7 separate regions of the Homo sapiens genome follow, and regions 2, 3, 4, 5, 6 and 7 are each linked to region 1. The links are contacts of gene promoters, found by promoter capture Hi-C in blood cells and fetal thymus (Javierre and others, 2016). All regions are on one chromosome and are shown on one strand. The core of a region is centred on a gene start or on the middle of the fragment in contact, and the rest is flanking DNA. Distances in the headings are between cores, read along the strand shown. Region 1 holds the start of HEBP1 (heme binding protein 1). Region 2 has its middle 2.2 kb from the start of PDE6H. Region 3 holds the start of PRH1-TAS2R14 (PRH1-TAS2R14 readthrough). Region 4 holds the start of H4C16 (H4 histone 16). Region 5 overlaps ATF7IP (activating transcription factor 7 interacting protein). Region 6 overlaps LOC124902877 (a long non-coding RNA gene). Region 7 overlaps ATF7IP (activating transcription factor 7 interacting protein).

The links. Contacts are between HindIII fragments. The CHiCAGO score rates a contact against its expected background, and 5 or more counts as called.
Region 2: a fragment that was not itself captured here is called in contact with the fragment with the promoter of HEBP1 in region 1 in 1 of 17 cell types (M0 macrophages); the score reaches 5.9 in M0 macrophages.
Region 3: a fragment that was not itself captured here is called in contact with the fragment with the promoter of HEBP1 in region 1 in 3 of 17 cell types (activated CD4 T cells, non-activated CD4 T cells and fetal thymus); the score reaches 7.7 in activated CD4 T cells.
Region 4: a contact is called between a fragment that was not itself captured here and the fragment with the promoter of HEBP1 in region 1, in 1 of 17 cell types (erythroblasts). The highest score is 5.0, in erythroblasts.
Region 5: a contact is called between a fragment that was not itself captured here and the fragment with the promoter of HEBP1 in region 1, in 1 of 17 cell types (M2 macrophages). The highest score is 5.2, in M2 macrophages.
Region 6: a fragment that was not itself captured here is called in contact with the fragment with the promoter of HEBP1 in region 1 in 4 of 17 cell types (non-activated CD4 T cells, total CD4 T cells, activated CD4 T cells and 1 more); the score reaches 8.7 in non-activated CD4 T cells.
Region 7: a fragment that was not itself captured here is called in contact with the fragment with the promoter of HEBP1 in region 1 in 4 of 17 cell types (erythroblasts, M0 macrophages, total CD8 T cells and 1 more); the score reaches 6.3 in erythroblasts.

The regions. Positions count from the first base shown.
Region 1 is chr12:12,998,882-13,001,647 of GRCh38, reverse strand. It overlaps HEBP1 (heme binding protein 1), which reads left to right and starts at 1,383. Exons shown (of 4, transcript NM_015987.5): 1 at 1,383-1,611. The coding sequence starts at 1,534. The region is part of intron 2 of GPRC5D-AS1 (GPRC5D and HEBP1 antisense RNA 1); the gene reads right to left. It also overlaps the pseudogene HTR7P1. RefSeq lists silencers at 289-438, 1,199-1,318, 1,369-1,518. The HindIII fragment of the contact is 1,773 bases long and covers 526-2,298 here.
Region 2 is chr12:14,969,467-14,972,232 of GRCh38, reverse strand. No RefSeq gene overlaps it. Among named protein-coding and RNA genes, the nearest start is that of PDE6H, 2.2 kb to the left of the region's middle. The HindIII fragment of the contact is 1,238 bases long and covers 796-2,033 here.
Region 3 is chr12:11,171,442-11,174,207 of GRCh38, reverse strand. PRH1-TAS2R14 (PRH1-TAS2R14 readthrough) reads left to right here and starts at 2,597. Exons shown (of 5, transcript NM_001316893.2): 1 at 2,597-2,766. It overlaps SMIM10L1 (small integral membrane protein 10 like 1), which reads right to left. Exons shown (of 1, transcript NM_001271592.2): 1 at 1-2,766. The coding sequence ends at 2,645. PRH1-PRR4 (PRH1-PRR4 readthrough) reads left to right here and starts at 2,583. Exons shown (of 10, transcript NR_037918.2): 1 at 2,583-2,766. It also overlaps a transcript of PRH1 not described here. The HindIII fragment of the contact is 1,117 bases long and covers 863-1,979 here.
Region 4 is chr12:14,770,765-14,773,530 of GRCh38, reverse strand. H4C16 (H4 histone 16) reads left to right here and starts at 2,400. Exons shown (of 1, transcript NM_175054.2): 1 at 2,400-2,766. The coding sequence starts at 2,447. The coding sequence ends at 2,758. RefSeq lists enhancers at 2,588-2,766, 2,582-2,766. The HindIII fragment of the contact is 1,284 bases long and covers 738-2,021 here.
Region 5 is chr12:14,450,906-14,453,671 of GRCh38, reverse strand. The region is part of intron 6 of ATF7IP (activating transcription factor 7 interacting protein); the gene reads right to left. Among named protein-coding and RNA genes, the nearest start is that of PLBD1-AS2, 78 kb to the left of the region's middle. The HindIII fragment of the contact is 861 bases long and covers 968-1,828 here.
Region 6 is chr12:11,542,729-11,545,494 of GRCh38, reverse strand. All of the region lies in intron 2 of LOC124902877 (a long non-coding RNA gene), which reads left to right. Among named protein-coding and RNA genes, the nearest start is that of LINC01252, 3.9 kb to the left of the region's middle. RefSeq lists an enhancer at 930-989. The HindIII fragment of the contact is 1,479 bases long and covers 658-2,136 here.
Region 7 is chr12:14,415,411-14,418,176 of GRCh38, reverse strand. The region is part of intron 1 of ATF7IP (activating transcription factor 7 interacting protein); the gene reads right to left. Among named protein-coding and RNA genes, the nearest start is that of ATF7IP, 51 kb to the right of the region's middle. The HindIII fragment of the contact is 731 bases long and covers 986-1,716 here.

The sequences.
Region 1 (2,766 bases), core at 134-2,633:
CTCAGCAGATGCGGCGTCCCGGAGACCGCGACCGGTTCGGCGCCACCGTCGGGGCTCAGGTCGGGCAGCCTGCCCCCCACCTCCGGCAGGAGGAAAGAGCAGAGGCGCCCGTAGAGGTCCGGGTGGCCGCTGCTGTTAACATCCATCACTGCGCCGCCGTGTGGCGCTGCCCAAGAAGCCGCCCCACCCCCCTCCCCACCCCCGCGGCCGCCACAGGCTCCGGCTTTCGGCCCCGGGGCTTCAACTCGCCGGTTCCCCTCCGCCCGGCCCAGCTTGAGGCCTGCACCGGCCGCTGGGCAGCGCCAGGCTCGGCCTCGGGGCCCCGCCTGTCCCAGATCCCCGGCCGCTGCGTGAAACGCGAGAGCGCTGCCGAGCGGGGACTCCCTGAGGGAGGGACCTCGGACCCCGACGGACGCCCGGGACGCGCGGGCTCTCGGGCGCTCCGGCGGGGCTCGGCCCGCGGCTCCACAGCCCGCTGCACCCGCGCGGCTCGGAGCAATGGAGGATCAGGCAGCGGCAGAAGCTTCCGTTTCCTCCTTTTTAAATGGCTCCAAAATATTTCTTGTCGGTGGTGTGGAGTAGAGATTTATTGGTAAAATACTTGACAGAAAGCAGGCACTCAGCTGAGTAAATGGTGACAAAATTGGTGAGAAGATTTTTGAACAGGAGTGAACGAGAAAAGCCATGCTTAGAAAAGTCACCTGGAAACTGTGATTTAGAGGGATGGTAGGAAAGAGTGGCAGCAGGAAAGTGGTTTGGATGCTCTTTCAATGGTCTAGAAGAGGTCATGGGGCGGGGGTAGAGGGACAGCTACCAAGACAGGGAGCCTGGCCGCCGCTGTACCAGCGGGATCGAGCCTTCGGGTAGAGGACCGGAGAAGCGTGAGCAACCCGGGGCTCGGAGGTTGGAGCCCAGGCACCTGAGAGAGGACGTTCCCCACCACCGCTGCCTAAAGCCACTCCAGGCGAGAATCGCTTTCCAGGGCCCCAGCGGATAGGTTAGACTCAGAATAAGAGAAGGGGTCTGCGGAGGGGGACGGCCTGAGGCCCGCGGCCGGGTTCCCTCCCCAGACACCCGCGGAAAGCCCGAAAGGAGGCGGAACACGGCCCAGCGGCTCGCCACGGCGGGCCCATCCCTTGCTTAGCCGCCTCGCACCCTCGCCTCACCGCACTGCTGCACTGCTGCACTGCTGCCCTGCTGCCCGCCCTTCGCATCACTGACCCGCCCTCTCTCCGCCCCCTCGCCTCGCCGCCCCGCCCTCTCTCTCCGCCCCTTCACCTCGCCGTCCCGCCCCCTTGCCTCACCGCCGGGCTGAATTGCCGCCCCGCCCTCTAGCCACGCCCTCTGGCCCCTGCCTCTAGCCCCGCCTCTCGCCTCGCCGCCTCGCCGTCCCGCCGCCTTGCCGCCCTGCCACCCTGCCGCCCTGCCGCCCTGCCGCCCTGCCGCCCTGCCGCCGGTGGTCGCTGCCCGTGGTGCTCCGTCGCCCCCGCCACCTCACGTCCTCCCGTGCGTCGGGAGCGTCTCGGCTACAACATGTTGGGCATGATCAAGAACTCGCTGTTCGGAAGCGTAGAGACGTGGCCTTGGCAGGTCCTAAGCAAAGGGGACAAGGTAGGCCCGCAGGGCTGCCGAGGACCTGAAGGATTGCTGCCTCCCACCCCCACCCTCGTCGGGGCTGCAGCGGGTGCTGAGGGGCAGGTGGGGCAGGAATGTGCTATCGAAGGTGCGTTCTGGTGTCTGTCGCGAGTGCGGCTCTCCACCGCCCAGCATTTGGACTGGGAAGGAAAGGAGTGAGAGGTCCCCCTGCAGCCGGTGGTGAGAGGAGGGGGGTAAACAGGAGAGACTGATCCAAGGAGAGAATCCCAACTTGGGGAGTTGGGCACTGCCTGTTGAATGCATTCTTTCGTTTAAAATATTCCAAACATTCCGAACAGTTTGATTTGTTGAGAGACACTCGGTTGCAGAAATGAGTGTCGCAAGAAACTCCCAAGTACTAGAGAACTGCGGATAGTAGCCCCCTTTATCCGCGATTTCAGTTACCTGTGGTCAGCTCTTGTCCATAACTATTAAATGGAAAATTCCAGAAATACAGAAGTCCTAAGTTTTAAGTTTCCGGCCATTCTGCGTAGCAGGATGAAATCTTGATTCCTGGGACCGGAATGCCCCTTTGTCCAAGGTCAGCCTCCTATCTCTAGTAGCCGCCCTTAGTCACTTAGTAGCTAGCTTGGTGATCGGATCGACCGTGGCGGTATTGAAGTAACCCTTATTTTACTTAGTAATGGCCCCAAAGTGCAAGCTTAGCAATGCTGGCATATTGTTATAATTGCTGTTATTTTATTATTGTTGTTCATCTCTTACTGTGCCTAATTGATAAAGTTAAACTATATCATAGGTATGTATGTATAGGAAAAAACGTAGTAGATACAGGGTTCAGTTTTGTCCACCGTTTCAGGTATCCACTGGGGGGCTTGGAAGGTATCTACTATAGATAAGGGGGACTACTGTGTAAAAGAACAAGATCTGTGCAGAATAGATATAAATGCGCTACGCAGGGAGCACAGAGGCAGTCAATTCTGCCAGGGGGCTATGATGGGGACCTCAGTGGAGTGTCCTGAGCTGGGGCCTCAGGGATGTGTAGGAGTGCACACAACAGAGAAGAGCATGCACAAAGGCCCAGAGCTGTACCATTGCTTTTGGCCAGTTAGATCCTCTGGAGTTGGGTACCTAGAATACAGAATGAGTGAGAAGAGCATAATTGCTGTCTTC
Region 2 (2,766 bases), core at 165-2,664, 2.0 Mb before region 1:
TGATAAATTTATCATAGAAAGATTAAGTGACCTATTCAAGACTGCAAATAAAATTAATAGTGGAGCCAGGAACAGGGCCCAAATCTGGAAGTACCTTGCATATTCAATTGTCTTTGTGCTGCACTACATCAAAGCAGACAGAGACCAAGATGTCTGTTTGCTGGTCACTTCCATGCCTTGCCAGTGAATTTCAATGTTCTTTCCCCAGTTGTTACCTATTAGAAAATTACACTCCATAACATTACAGAGAAAGAAGGTCAATTTATCCTTTCTAGACAGGGAGAGGTTCTTAACCTGCAGCCCTAAGCAGATTACATGAGCAACTAGACAGCTTGAGAGTCATTCATATGCTCTCCACTGGTCTTTACCAAAATTCCTCTGAGTTTTGAAAGCAATGATTACCTTGCAAAGCCAGGAAAGTGTTTGGTCTCTGGATGAGTCCCTCTGCTCCCTCCTCTGTATCTCCATTACCATTCACATCTTCCTTTACTATTACATACCAGGCACGTTAATGTTCAGATGCTTATCTGTCAAACTTTTACATATTCTCCATTTTCTTGATGAAAGAATACAAATTTTAAGGACAGTGGAAAGTGCCAAAAGCTGAGTGAATGTTCTAGAATGTTGTTACTCAAAGTGCAGCAGCAGCAACACCATCTGTGCACTTGTTAAAAATGCAGGATTTCAGCCCTGCTCCATACTTACCGAATCAGAATCTGCTTTTTAACAAGGTCCAAGGTGATGTGTTTGCATATTAATGTTTGAAAAGTACTGTTCTAGACCCATATGCAAGCTTGGGTTTACCACTTATCTGCTATATGTCACCTCTCTGAGTCTCAGTTTCCTCATATGTAAAATGAATGATTTAGAGTGTTGGGGTTCTCAATTTTTTTCCATCCCAGTACACTTGAGAAAGATAATCTTGCAATTCTCAGATTCTCAATTTTTGAATATGGGGGTGGTTGTGCCATAAGTCTTCTTCCTCCAAAGGAAATCCAGGAGAGAGAAGAGGGAGAGATTAGGAGTGTGGAGAAAGTCTAGGTGTATAGTTTGAAAAATTCTCCTAAAGCCACTCTAATATGGTTCTCAGGGGTTTAGAATTAGAAAATTCTTAAATTACTCTACAGTCTTAAAAATCTATGTTCCTTCTTGTTTTGGACCAAGTAAAGTAGACACATTTCCTCTCATGCCTCTTGCTAAGTACAGCTAAAAATCCTGGATACTATATATGACAGAAATATGGAATATTTCAAAATATTTGAGAGAAGAAAAACCAAAGACAGGCTTTAGATGCGAGGAACAATATGGCAGGAAGTTTCCTGAATTTTCTTTTTGTATATCCGGATGTTGATGCAGGAAAAGACAGTAACCCAAAAACACCAAGAGGAGTGAAAAAACAAAAAACCTCCCCAAAAGCCTGTTTTTTCTAGACAAGTGACCAAGAGAGTAGCAAACTAGCAAGAACAAAAACATTTAAACAAAAACCGCCCTACTCCAGTCAAATACCATGGAAAAAAAACATGACATGACTCAGCAAAGTCTGAGTGGAGAGCCAAGACTTTCATCTTGATTCAGCTACAACGGGGTGACCTTCTTTCTCCCACCCTAGCTGAGTAGCATCAGAGAAAGCCACATTGGGATCTTGGACTTTCACCTCCAACCAGTCATAACGAGGCCACCTTCTTCTCCCTACCAGAGCGGTATCAAAGAAGCCCAAGTGGGAAATTTCATCTCCATTCAGAAATAACACAGCATGTAAAAAAGCATGAAATAAAGATTTTAGAACTGAAAAATAGAATAACCAACATAAAAAACTTAATGGATAGGCTCAAAAACAGAATGGAGAATAAAGAAGAAAGAATCAGTGAACTTGAAGACAGAAAAATAGAAATTACCCAATCTGAACAAAAGACAGAAAATAAACCCACCCCCCCACAAAAAAAATGAATAGAACCTTACAGATCTGTGAGACTAAAGGACCTAATATTTATGTCATCAGCATCTCAGAAGGAAAGGAGAAAAGAGATGAAGCTTAAAAAGTACTTGAAGAAATAATGGCTAAAAATGTTCCAAATGTAGTGCAGGACGTAATTGTGTAACATCAAGAAGGTGGGAAAACCCAGTGGGATAAACTCAAAGAAATCTACACCAAAATACACCATGGCTAAACTTCAGAAAACTAAAGACAAAGAAAAAAAGTAGAAAGCAGTGAAAGAGAAGCAACACCTTATCTGTAAGAAAAATAACTCAACTGACAGCAGATTTCCCATTAGAAACCAGGGGGACTAGAAGGATATGGCACATTTTTCATGTCCTGAGAAAAAGAACTGTCAACCCTCACTTCTATGTCATGTGAATTTATCCTTCTTCGGAATAAGGGGAAATAATGACATCCTCAAACAAAGGAAGACTAAGAGAATCTATAATCAGAAGACCTACTCTAAAAAGATGGCTAAGGAAACTTTTTGAAACAAAAAATAAATGATAAAAGAAAGAATTTTAGTCTATCTGAAAAGAAAAATGGAAGATAAGAAACTCAACCACCTTCAGCAAGGCTTGGTGGAGAACGAAACATCGTTCAAGGCACTATGAGGTTCTAAGGGTCTGGTCATCATCTTGGATCAAGGATTCACCCACTGTTCCCTGTTTGAAGTGGCTGCTCTTCCTGTCTCTGCTACTCTGACTCCTACTGACTCTCAGGGGATTGGTGTAGGCTGGGCAAGCAACAATCAATACACATCACCTCTGTTGGATGGAGTAGTTTTA
Region 3 (2,766 bases), core at 172-2,671, 1.8 Mb after region 1:
TTATTCAGGTCAAAATCTTGTTTTGTCTCCTGGGAATTTCACTGAATTGCATCATGTAGGAGGCAAACTATACCCCAAGAATTAAGAGCAATTGTGAATAAATGATAAACCACAGAGTTTACATTTACCTCCTAATACATTTAACTCCTAATATATATATATACATATATTACGAGGTAAATGTAAGCTGTAACTTTATGCATATATTGTAAGTAGTAACTATACATATATACTTATATACTGTATACATATATAGTAAGTAGTAACTATACATATATACATATATAGTTACTACTTAAATTTATATATGTGTATGTATATATATATGTATATATACAGTACACACACATACTGTTACTACCGGGTGTAAAATTGAATAGGATATAGTGTCTTCCCTCACAGAGCTGCCAATTATGTTGGAGGATGTAATAAATACAAAGTCTGTTTCTTCATCTTCGGTTTAACAAATGACTGATGTGAGGAAAAAAGTTATAGGAATATGTTCACATAGTCACCCAAATGGAGCATCCTACTCTGTCACCATTTCAGGATTAAGACTAGACAGTCTTTTGTGTTACAAATTGGGACATCAGTGCTCTGGGAAACAGTGATGTCCACGATTCTAAATCCCTTGGTATTACTATTTCATTGATTAAACTACACTTCTGATATTTTAGACTAAAATGTTTTGGCTTATCGCAGTCTAGGAAACCTGTCTTGGGTATATAAAACAGACAGTTGATGCACGATTAGGGAAAAATAAGGCAACCTATGAAAATGGCCTTATGGATTAAAAGAAGTGAGCTCCTATATGGTCAGTGGAATCCAGGAAAAATTTAATGGAAAAAGCGCCACCTAAGCTTAGCTTTAAAACACAGAGTATCTTCAGGTAGAAAAGGCTATAGGAGAATGTGCCCAAATGGAGTTTGGCTGGAGACAAAGAATAAAGACTAGAAAGAACAATTACCCTAGGCCAGACATGGTGTTGGACGGGGCAAGATGCTTACTACTTAAAGCCATAGAACACTGTTTGCTGGACACAATGAGTGGAATATAGAACAATGCAACTATTTTAACACTTTACCCCTCTTAGTGGTTTATTAGTTAATTTTTTCCTGAAAAAAAAAATGCGTATACTACTTTTTCTGCACTTTTCTATATCAGATCTTGATTTAAAACTTTACCACTCTTGGTGATTTATTATTAGTTTTTTTAATCCGAAGAAAACATGTGTATACTCCTTTTTCTGCATTTTTCTATATCAGATCTTGATTGGCTCACCACCATTACACACACACACATCTCTTTTCTCCCATCCTCCCAGCGTTATAGAATCATTTGTTGTAAAATCAGTATTCAGTATTTACATAATTATGACTGACTTTACATGACTACTATTATTCACAGTTGAGGTATACCGTGTATACAGTGTAGTTTTTAAATTTTTATTTTTCTCAGCGTTCAAAATTATATGTTCTGTTTTCTTAATTTTGAAAAATATGCATTCACTAATTTATCCCCACACTCTTTGGAAAATGAAAGCTCTCTAGGCTGTATTCAAATACACCAGGTACTCTATCAATTTTCATTTTTTAAACTATTCTACCTGAGCTCTCCATCTTTAGCCATTTCCTGTTGACTTCATACTGTTCTCCCCTACCACTCTCCCTCTTTAATATATTACCGTTTTAGAAACTTTATGGCTACCCTGTAAGTAATAAAAATGTCTTTCCCCACTCAACAACAGACAGTACCTTTCAAGTTTCCACTTTATAAGGACATAACCCCCATTCCATTTACTTCCCCCGCCCTCCTTCAACATTCCCACTTGTATTTTCCGGCTGTATTTTTAAAACATGGTAAATAACATTTGCACTCCACTTTGTAACCATAATTAAGTATGCCCTTAAACAATAAAAACCATAAACAACATTTGTATTTTACGATTATTTAAATGTTATTCACTGAACAGCCAAGCTTTGTGCTACTATGGGATTTCGTTTTCTGCGGTTCCAAGTCTTGATCCACGTCCTGCCACAGGATCACTGAAGTAGAGCCCATTTTCTTACACTCTCGCCATTAGTTCAAAAGCTTGCAGCATTTTATGTCTGGTACTTGGAGGATGATTTTCCTGTACAGTTTTGCGTTTTTTTCACCGAAAATTTCTGATTATTATTGTTTTCTCTTGTGGGATGAAATATGTACCTTCTATATCACAGCCTTAATACCTTCAGCTTCTTATTCATTGAAATCTTGCTTACAATCCAGTCCGAGGATTCCCGGTTTACTGATTTTCTTTTTCCTGCAAATTTTAGCCTTCTGTTTTGTTTTGAAATAATGCATCCTCTGCGCTTTGTCACATTCTGAAATTCGTCAGGTGTTTTAGGATGCACACTTTCTTAGATGTTTTCGAGGGTCTTAACTGCAGTTCTGTTTCCGGAACAGCGTATTCTCTTTCTAGGGATTGTAGGCTCCCGGCCGCCCCCTGAGGAGCTCCGCTAGCAGCTAAGAGGGCAGCCACGAAGAGCGCCTGAGCACTCTCGCGAGACTGTGGGGCTCGCCATTGGCTGCTCCGCCGCGCCGCAACGGACCCTGGGAGTCGGCCATCATGCTGGCCCCGGAGGCCGTTAGCTTAGTCATGGCTCTAAATATGTACCTGCAATCGGATGTTGAGGATCACCGAGCCCGCGACGTAGAAGTACGGGAAGTTCATGCGCAGCTGCCAGGCCAGCTCGAAGAAGGCGAGCAGGGTGCGGGAGAGCCCCT
Region 4 (2,766 bases), core at 130-2,629, 1.8 Mb before region 1:
ATTCTTATATACCTGAATTGTGGACCCATGCTTTTTGAAACAAAAAGAGTGTTTCAAGTGTTTTGTTTTAATTAAAAATTACTTTCTCCTAATTCATCGAGGTCATTTCATTTTTACCTGAACATTTTCAGTAACACAGTTAACACCGATACGTGATGTAATGTTGAACGCTTGCTTTTTAAAATAAACATTTTATGTGGATTCATTTACATTTAAAGTAAAGCAAATTTACCTTCTCACTATCCGAATAAAGATTTGACTTCATTGAAATAACATTTTCAAATATTTATGTATATGTCATTACTGCCTAGAACAATGATGAACCCATACTGGGGACTCAATAAATGTCTTCAGAGCTATTGTCATGGTTTAGGCGGTCTTTCCGGAGCCAGTCTGCCTCAGCCTAAATCCTGGCTTTACCACTGAGCAGTGACCTTTGATAAGTTATTTGACTCCTCTACCTGTATCAAAGTGTTTTGAAAATTAAATACGTTAGTAAGCATCCAATAACTCTTAGATATACCAAATAAATGGGCATACAAATCTCTGATGCAGTTTTTAACGAGATGTTCCTGGAATGAGTTCTGTAAACTAGCTTAAATTTTTGCCTGTATCTTGGGGAATTTTCAAGAGTTTTTAAAAGTATTACTATTTTAGACACGATTTTTTTTCTTTTATTCCAATAAGCAAGAGATTTCTAATTTGAAAATGTTCTAGTCTTGATTTCTTAGAAAGCTTAACTATAAGTAAGTCAACCGATTTTACCATTACAATAATTTTTTTTTTTTTTTTTTGAGACGGAGTCTCGCTCTGTCGCCCAGGCTGGAGTGCAGTGGCGCGATCTCGGCTCACTGCAAGCTCCGTCTCCCGGGTTCACGCCATTCTCCTGCCTCAGCCTCCCGAGTAGCTGGGACTACAGGCGCCCGCCACCACGCCCGGCTAATTTTTATGTATTTTTAGTAGAGATGGGGTTTCACCATGTTAGTCAGGATGGTCTCGATCTCCTGACCTCGTAATCCGCCCTCCTCGGCCTCCCAGAGCGCTGGGATTACAGGCGTGAGCCACCGCGCCCGGCCCCATTACAATAATTCTTATCTCTTCAAGATCTGATAGACTTTTCCTCTTCCCTCTGAGTCAAATATTAAAATCATGAGTGAAGTTCGACCATTCAGGACTTTTTCCAGCCATTCAAGACAGTGTTCCAACTCTTTTATCTTTAACAAAAAGTAAAAGAAAAATAAATACCTTTTGGGTTATGAAGATGGGCATGGATTGAAACAAATGTAAACTATAGGCATTTATAAATATAACAAAATTTTACCATAAAGTCTTCCTGCTGTAAAGGCTTATCTTCAAGACCAGGGACAAAGAAGCCCCACTTACTAAAATTCATTGCTCAGAATCCTAATTAACTACCTGGGAAAGACTTATGACTCATCCTCTAAATAACAGCTGCTTTTTAACACAGTAAAACCTTTAGAGAAGACAGGGTCCTGACACCTTTGAAGAGCGGTGACACCTTACAGAAACTTTCGTTTTTGTTCAGGGATTCTCTTGAGAAAGGAAGGGATTCAGAACCTCCTGAGGGGATTTGCAGTAGAAATCATTATTCCAAGTCATGATTGTGGCATCCATTGTTTTACAAGAACTTTGAATTTTTAAGTGGAAAATGTGAGATGAGAACCTGAGATTTGAATGACATAAGACATTGACAATATTTCAACTAAATAACCACAGGAAGTTACTTGGTTGAAAAGCACACAGGCTCTTGCAGGGCAGGAAAACCTGCAAATTGCGCAGAAGCAGCTGAAAGGGGAATGGCGGGGGTCGGGGGGAGGTGGGGGTGGAGTGTAGGTGGGGGACGGGAAGCTGCACTTTCTTTTTTCAATTGAAAGAATTTTAATTATCTGCAGGGCCGTAAAAGAGAAAAAAGTCCTCTCCCCCTACTATGTCTTCAGAAGACCCACGTGTGAAAAATTTTAAATTTTAAGTAATTGCTTTGAAATCTCGGATGTAAAGCTTTTCAGGTTTTTATAGAGTTTCATAGTAAGTCAGGAATTCCGTTTGAAAAAACAGAAGGAGGGAGGGACAGAACAAGGAACGTGCATAGGATCTGGCCTACTTTTATTTAAGCGCTGAGAAAAGGCAATATAAATTCTTTTAGCTCATACTGTTTTAACTTTAAAACGTATCACCATGAACCTTTCTCCAAACATCAGAAAAAATTTTCCCAAAAGAGCAAACAACAAAAAAATCAGGCTGGTTTCGCTGACTGCTTCCTGGACTTAACAACTATAGCATGTCTCCAGAGGTGGGGCCTAGAGCTCCGCCCACTTTTTTGATGTTTTCAAACAGGTCCGCATCGAGAGACTATAAGCCCTGGTCTGCGACTGGCAATCACAGTGGGCAGCCCGATTTTCTGCTGAGTAGGCGCTGTGATTTCAGAATGTCTGGGCGAGGTAAAGGTGGCAAGGGGCTGGGTAAGGGAGGCGCCAAGCGCCACCGGAAGGTGCTGCGGGACAATATCCAAGGCATTACAAAGCCGGCGATTCGCCGTCTCGCCCGACGTGGGGGCGTCAAGCGCATTTCTGGTCTCATCTACGAGGAGACCCGGGGAGTCCTCAAAGTCTTCCTGGAGAACGTGATCCGTGACGCGGTGACTTACACGGAGCACGCCAAGCGCAAGACCGTCACGGCCATGGATGTGGTGTACGCGCTGAAACGCCAGGGTCGCACCCTTTATGGTTTCGGCGGTTGAGCTGTCCC
Region 5 (2,766 bases), core at 149-2,648, 1.5 Mb before region 1:
GCCTGGGCGACAGGAGCGAAACTCCTTCTCAAAAAAAAAAAAGATACTCAATTAGGTGAAAGTGAAAGAGACGACAGAAAACAGCAAAATCAGGAAAAGGGTGCATGAACAAAATGAAAATATCAACAAAGAGAAACTGTAAAAACGTATCATAATACAAATTAAAAAGCTGAAGAATACACTGAAATGAAAATTCACTGTAGAGAATCAAGAGCAGACCGGATCAAACCGAAAAATAAGTCCACAAGTTTGAAGACAGGTCATTTGAAATTATCAAGCCAGAGGAGCAAAAAGAGAATGAAAAAAAGCTAAGAAAGTCTAAAGGACTTTTGGGACACCAACAGGCAGACCAATATACACATAAGGGAAGTAAAGGAAGACAGAGAGAAAGATAAATAATTGCTGAAAATGTCTGAAACTGGAAGAAGAAAATGGAGATGCAAATTCAAGAAGCTCAAAGACCTCCAACTATTGTTAACCCAAAAACATCTACACTGAGATACATTATAACCAAGCTGTCTGAATCACAGTAAATAATCTTGAAAGCAGTAAGAGAAAAGCAACTCATAACAACACACAAGGGAACTCCCATAAGATAACACGCAGATATCTCAGCAGAAATCTTGTAGGCCTGAAGGAGTGAGATAATATATTATCAAAGGGCTGAATCAAAGACCTGCCAATCAAGAATACTATACCTGGCAATAATATGCTTCAAAAATGAAGGTGAAATTAAAATTTTTCCCAGATTAGTAAAAGCTGAAGGAGTTTCATCACTATACCTGTCCTAAAAGAAGTGCTGAAGAAAGCCCTTCACGTGGAAACTAAAGAGTGTATGCATCATGGAAGCATACAAAAATATAAACTTCTCTAAGAAAATGTTGATAAGGAGAAAAATACAGAATCCTGTATTCTTGTTATATTGGTGCATAAACCACTTTTAATTCTGGTATAGAACTTAAAAGCTTAAAAAAACTAAAAATATGTTAACAGATACACAACATAAAAAGATGTGATATACGACAACAGTAACATCAAGTCATAGTGAGGCAGATATAGACTAGCGCTCTTATATGATTAAAGTTATTTGCAGTTTAACATAGACAGTTGTAACTTTAGGATGTTTTATGTAATCCCCACGGTAACCACAGAGGAAACATCTAAAGAAAATACACAAAACGAACTGTAAAAGGAATGAAAGCACACTACTATACCAAAAGAAAAACAAAAAGCAATGAAACACAAAGGAATCAAGAAACAAAAAAAAGCTACAAGTCATAGAGAAAAAAACAAAATGACAACAATAAGTCCCTTCCAATGAGCAGTTTATTTAAATGCAAATGGATAAAATTCTCCAATCAAACGACAGGTTGACTTAATGTTTTTTAAAATAAGATCCAACTATATGGTGCCTACAAGAGGCTCACTTTGGATCCAAAATACAACACAGAATGAAAGTGAAAGGATGGAAAAATATTACCATGCAAATGGTAACAAGAAGAGAGTAAGGATGGGCCATACTTATGTATGACAAAATAGACTTTAGGTCAAAAACTGTCAAAACAGACAATGAAGGACATAATGATAAAAGGGTACTTTCACCAGCTGTAACACACACACACACACCCCTACATCAGAGCTCCAAATATATGAAACAAACATTGAAAGAATGGAAGGGAGAAACAGACAGTAACACAATGATAGTAGGAAACTTCAATACCCCACTTTCAATAATGGATAGAACCATCAGACAGAATATCAACACAGAAACAGAGAACTTTAACAACACTATATGCTAATTGGACCTAACAGACACATAGGATAAGCTTGGATCAAACAACAGCAGAATACACATTCTTCTCAAGAGCACATAGAAAATTCTCATGGATAGGTCGCATGTCACAACCCAGGTCTTAACAAATTTAGAAAGAATGAAATCATACCAAGTATCTTTTCTGACAATAATGGAATGAAACTTGACGTCAACAGCAGAAGAAAAGTAGGAAAAGTCACAAATATGTGAAAATTAAACATGCTGTTTAAAAAAAAAAACCAACAAGTCAAAGAAGAAGGTAAATTACAAGATATCTTCAGACAAATGAAAATGAAAACAAAATATAATAAATTGTATGCAGTGAAAACAGTGGTAAGAAGGAAGTTTATAGTGGTAAAACACAAACACAAAGATCTCAAATCAACAATCTAGCTTTACAACTCAAAGAACTAGAGGGGAAAAACTAAACCCAAAATTAGCAAGAGGAAAGAAATAATGAAAATTAGGGTGGAAGTAAACAAAAATAGAGAATAGAAAAACAAAAACAAAACTTAAAAGTTGGTTTAAAAAAAATCAGCAAAATTGATAAATCCTTAACTAGGCTAACTAACAAAACAGATGACTTTAAAGATGAAAAGAAATGAAAGAAAGAGAAGACATTAGAACTGATGCTACATAAATGGGAAGGATTACAAGAGACTACAATGAACAATTACACACCTGCAAACTTGATTACCTAGAAGAAATAAATTCCTAAAAACACACAACCCACCAAGACTGAATTATTAAAAGTAAATAAATAAATAAATCTATAATTATTAAGGAGACTTAATCAGTAATAGAAATCTCCTAACAAAAAAAGCCTAAGGCCAGGTGCGGTGGCTCACTTGAGGTCAGGAGTTCAAGACCACCCTGGCCAAATGACGAAAGCCCGTCTCTACTACAAATACAAAAATTAGCCAGACGTGGTGGTGCAGGCCTATTATTCCAGC
Region 6 (2,766 bases), core at 148-2,647, 1.5 Mb after region 1:
TAATGCTAGCCCTATTCATTTCATCATACATCTATTGTGTTCATACTGTGTTCTGAGCTCCGTGTTTAATCTTCGCAGGCTCATGAAGAGGAGTTAAGGATACTTTTGTCTTGAAAATGCTAACAGTCCCTCATGTGCTTGGGACCAGGGCTGCTGGAAAACCCACTAAGCAGCACACGGGAAACTAGAAAAGCAGAGGAACAAAGTTTTGGGGTTTTTGGGAGAGGGGGTGAAGAATGACATATTTTATTCCAAAAGCATAAAATATTTAATAGTGGAAACTATGAATGATACTGTTTAATTTTTAGGAGGCCAAAATATTTTAAGATTTATAAGTTTTAAGCTGGCCTTGGAGTGAGGGCAGAAAATATGTACACAAACAACTCTAATACAAGACTGAATGTGATGTATACCATAACAGAGCACCAAAGTAATAATGAATTGGGAGACAGAAGAACCACAATGTCTTTATAAAGTGGTATTTGAAGTGGACTTTGATGAACAGATAGGCAGGGTTGGAGTGCATGATCACTAAATCCATTCAAACCTTCTAACATTGACTTTTTATGGTGTGGGGGTGGGTGGGATGGGCACGGATTCTCCATGCAAAGGGACTATCTCGGGAACAGACAGTCACGGGGGCGGGGGGACTAAGCTTTCCAGTGTGCCTGGAGAAAAAGGCACATGTGAGGTCATGGATCTCAGGGCCCAGGCTAGTCTAGTTTGGCTGTAGCAGGAAGTGTTCCTCACTCTGCTCAGACCCAGGTACTGCTTCAAACCAGAAAGTCTGGAGAGTGGGCTCCTTCCTCCCCTAATGGGGCAATTTGCCCAAGGACAAAGTCCAGGCTTGCTCCTCCGTATCAGACCCTGCTCTGGGTAGAGGGAAACCACCACATGCTTTCTTGTTTGATGTGCTGAGTGCTCAACTGAGCTGTCTGTGCCCCTACACTGCTTCTGTATACTTAGAGTCAACCTTTAGAGGATGATATTTCAACATTCTGCATGGAGTTTTCTCTGTAAAGTACAATGAGTTTGTGACTGACCAGAACTACAGACATTCCCTTTTGTTTGTGAGCTGCATGACCAATGTGTTTGGCCTCATTAAAAATGAACTGGGCAAGCTGGGCATGGTAGCAACTCAGGAGGCTGAGGTGGGAGTCTCACTGAGCTCAGGAGTTCGAGTCCAGCCTGGGCAACATAGCGAGACCCTGTCTCTAAAAAATATAATAATATAAAATTTTGAAATAAGAATGAACTGGTCAAATAGGAAAGTTTTCAAGGACATCAACTGGTCTTTTCTTGCACAGAGGAGATTCGCAGGATGAAAATACTCTGAGGCTTCTTCCCACTGCAGGGCACAGACCCGAGTTAAGTGTGGCCTGGCCCTCAGCACTTCCCAGGTGCCCTTGGTGCATCCTGGTGCTGACCTGTGCCCCTCCACACTCCTGCTGTGCAGCTCCTGCTACCCTACAGGAACCTGCTCCTGAATAATCCCTGTGTCTCCTCTCTGTGCTCTTATGAGTCACCGAAACTCGCTTGTGAATTTTATTCACAGGGTTTTGACGGCTTCTTTCTATCCAAATTTATTTCCTCCTTGACCTCATTCCTTCTGTCTTGTTGCCATCACCAGTGAAAGCTAATATTATTTACATAGGGAAATGCATAGTGGATGGAAGGATACAGTTCTAGGAGTCACATGACCAGCCAAAAAAAGTTCTGCGTAGACACACACACACACACACACACACACACGTATAAACATATCATAACAAACTTAGCAGCTTGAAGATGAAGATTAATAGTGTTACTGTTTAAGGATCTCAAAGATAAAACATTTGCAAATTTAAAGCACACTTACACATGTATTCCTCTTGAGGACTTGGAAACACAGTTTTGCAGAATAACTCTGGCTGCCAGCTAGCACGGGAAGAGAAGTGTTAAGTGTTGAAAACTGTTAACTGTTCATGGACCAGTATAAATTGAGTCATAGGGGTGAGGTGTTTTTATGTTTGCTATATTTCCTATTTCCACTACTTTCCTGAATAAGTACATTTACTCTGGGTTAATTTTTGAAATAATTTTGAAATTATTCAAAACATTGTTGTGTGTATATGCAAAGACTAGGGAAAAGAAGCTTGGATTGGTAGCAAAAAGCCAACTGTGACTTTGAGCAAATTATTTGACCTCTCTCAATATATCTTTTCTTATTTTAAAATAAGGAGGTTGAACTATATCATTTCTATGCTTTCTTTCATTGTTAGCAATCCACGAATAATGGAACACTGCACAGAATAGTAAACACTGGGTTAAGATCCAGTATTGGCTCGAATCCTTATAACTGTGTGATCTGAATACAGTAATTTCTTCTCCCTGGGCCTTACTTTCTTCATCTGAAAAATTACAGGATTGGCCTCTATCTTCCTTATTGTCTCTTCAGACTCTCATGTTTTGTAGTTTTCCTCAGTTATGGTAGAAATCTCATCCTTCTCTTCTTAACATTTAGTCCTGTGCTCCAGGGAAAGAGGAGGGAGTTGGGAGAGGCCTGATATAATCATTAATTTTCTCCGTCTTTCTCTTTGTTTTGTTTTAACTCTCTTTCTCCTTCCCCCTCCCCACCTTCTCCTCCATTTTTTTTTTTCTAGAACACTGAGAAAGTTTCCTCATAGTCTACTTGGCAGTTGCAGCTGTCCCTAGAATGAGTCCTGAAACCTAGATCTGAGTTGCGGTAGAAAGCCTATTACTTCCTTGCTTGTTTGAAGACAGCCT
Region 7 (2,766 bases), core at 102-2,601, 1.4 Mb before region 1:
ACCTGCAAATAAGTCTCTCTGGCTTGGAAATTTTTTTTTCAAATTTTTGGTAAATTATTTTTAAAATATTTTTAAGGAAAGCCCAACGAGCTTCTTCTTTAAATGAAAACATTACTCTCTTCTCTGCTTCATCCCCCTCCACCCACTTCTTTCTAGCAAGAGATCATAGCAATGAAACAACAAAGGGAAGCTGTTATGTCTTAGCCTACAATCTGCCTGCTCAAAAAGCTCAAGAATTTAAATGGCTGTTCAAGAGCTGCTCACAAACTCAGCCAATCAGCAGCCAGCATTCTGATTCCTGCCCAGCAACAGGAGACAGACAATAAGGTCAGAAAAACATAGTTAAACAAAAACTGTATCTGCAATACTTAAGTGTGGTTCTTTGTTTGAAATAAGTAATCTAGAACACAGTTTACATAAAACCCTAAATCCACGTAACACGCATTAAATATACCACACACATAAATGGATAAGATTTACATCTTTTATGCTATTTGCTTTAATAAATATCCATGAACATTTCAAGAAATATACATTAATATAAATTAATTTCCTACCTGAGGAATAAGTCAAACATGGACAATATACGTAAGAACATATTTTTCTATACAATGCAAAATTCAAATGTAAATTTCTTTTTAAAAATTCCATAGACCATACATATAAAATATATAAATCTAGCAAAACCTTAAATCCAGACAAGTAAAAAAAAAATCTTCATACCCATCTACCACTATTGTTACAGATTTCCGATTCCAAAAATTAATAGTATTCTGGACCCAAAGGATTACTAGGGATAGTATTATGAAGTGTTGTGCTGTCTACTGCACTGAACTGACTTAGTTTAATTCATCTAATGAAATCTAAATGTCTGATTCTGGACAACCTATATTAAGTGGTATAAGTACAATTACTACATCCTTTTCTCCTTAACTGCCTTTCGCAGCAAGTTACAAAAGGTTATATGAGATATCCTTTCAAAGCTTTATTATAAAACAAATGTGTGGATTACAAAGTAAATATTCATGAAAATTAAAGACATTTTTATTATATTACACCATTCTATAGTTCTTTAAATATAGGATTATAAAATAAAAATGGAAAATTTGTTATCAGAATTTTTTTCTCAAATTCACTACTTATTAGGTGTTCTTAATAACCAAGTTTTAAAAATAAACCTCATTTCCCCCCTTCCTTACAGATGAACCTTGTAATTTTTCAAACATACCCAAGAGGGAGCTTGCTGCAGCCATACTCTTAGTTTATATAATCTCCCCACAGGAAAAATATATCAACAGCTGCTTCAATGTTTCAGTCCTGTGAGAGAACTGAAATTCACTGTCTGATTGGCTCAAAGCCGAAATAGTCTAAAACCAATCAGACATCAGTGTCACAAACCTTGCCCAGCAACAAGGGAAGAAGATGAGGGCAAGAGCTCTATTAAAAATGCAAAGGATGTGAAAATCAAGGTGAACAATGAAATGGAAACATTAGGAATATAACTCTAGATGCTCTGTTTGAAAAACAGGTCATGGTAGGGTTTCTTTGATTAAATAAACTAGGGTCTGTACTGCTTTCCAAGAACAGACTTAACTAAGTACCACGATTGTTGGGTCAAAAAGCATATACAACACATAGACAAAACAAATGCTGTATTAATTCAAAGTAATGAATATCTGATGAAGTATACTTCAAAATAAAACTAAAGCAAAAGCTTAGAAAACATCAAGCAAAACCTTTTAAGTGGACATGGCATTTCTATCTTTGACAAAGGCATTCCAATTATATTCATGCTGTTGCCTGAGAGTACAACATTTTTCTGAATAAAAATTTCATTCATTTTTCTACTGAAAATAATTTTAATTTGAGTTTATTTTCATTAAATGGCTGAATTAAATATTAAATAATCACTTTATGCTGATAATTTCTAACCTCTTTAGAAATGCAACTCTGCTATTAGATTCTTTAAGAATCCCATTCTCAGTTGAAAACTGTATGATTTTATTTTACACTTCTAAATTTTGCTTGAGAATTTGCAATACTCTAAAAATAAAATCATAAAGAATAGTGGGTTGCACAAAAGATGCTAATAATCTGCTTTACTGCTTACTGCCCATTAAATAGACTACTGAATCTGTTCACTCACTTTGATACTTATCTGCTCAAATTTAGTATAAAGATTTTGAAATTTTTATTTTAAATACCATGTCCATCAGTATTTGTGGGAGACTGGTCCCAGGACTCCCTACAGATAACAAAATCTGACAATGTTCAAGTCCCTTATATAAAGTAGTGTAGTATTTGCATATAACCTATGCACATATTGCTGTATACTTTAAATTATCTTTAAATTACCTATAATACCCAGTATAACATAAAGGCTATGTAAACAGATGTTACACTGTTGCATTGTCAGCTACGGTTCTCTTAACTGGTATAAAATAACTGTCACTAGCTATCCTGCCATCTTAAAAAAAAAAAAAAACAGTAAGTGGTGAAATCTGTTTATCAAATACTCATAAACTCAGTTGAGTAAGTTATCAAGTGATCATAATATTTGACACTTTCACAAATTAACCCCTCTGCCTGTCACCGACCAAAATGTGGAATGCAATATCCCCAAACTAAATTGTAAAAAATAACCAACCACAAAGGAAACTGGGAGTTTGCTTTACCAACAATTCCCTAGACAAGGTTACCAACAATTCCCCAGACAAGGCAGGAGTAAATCATGTCCTTAAAAGTTTGGTTACATCAAAGCCAGAA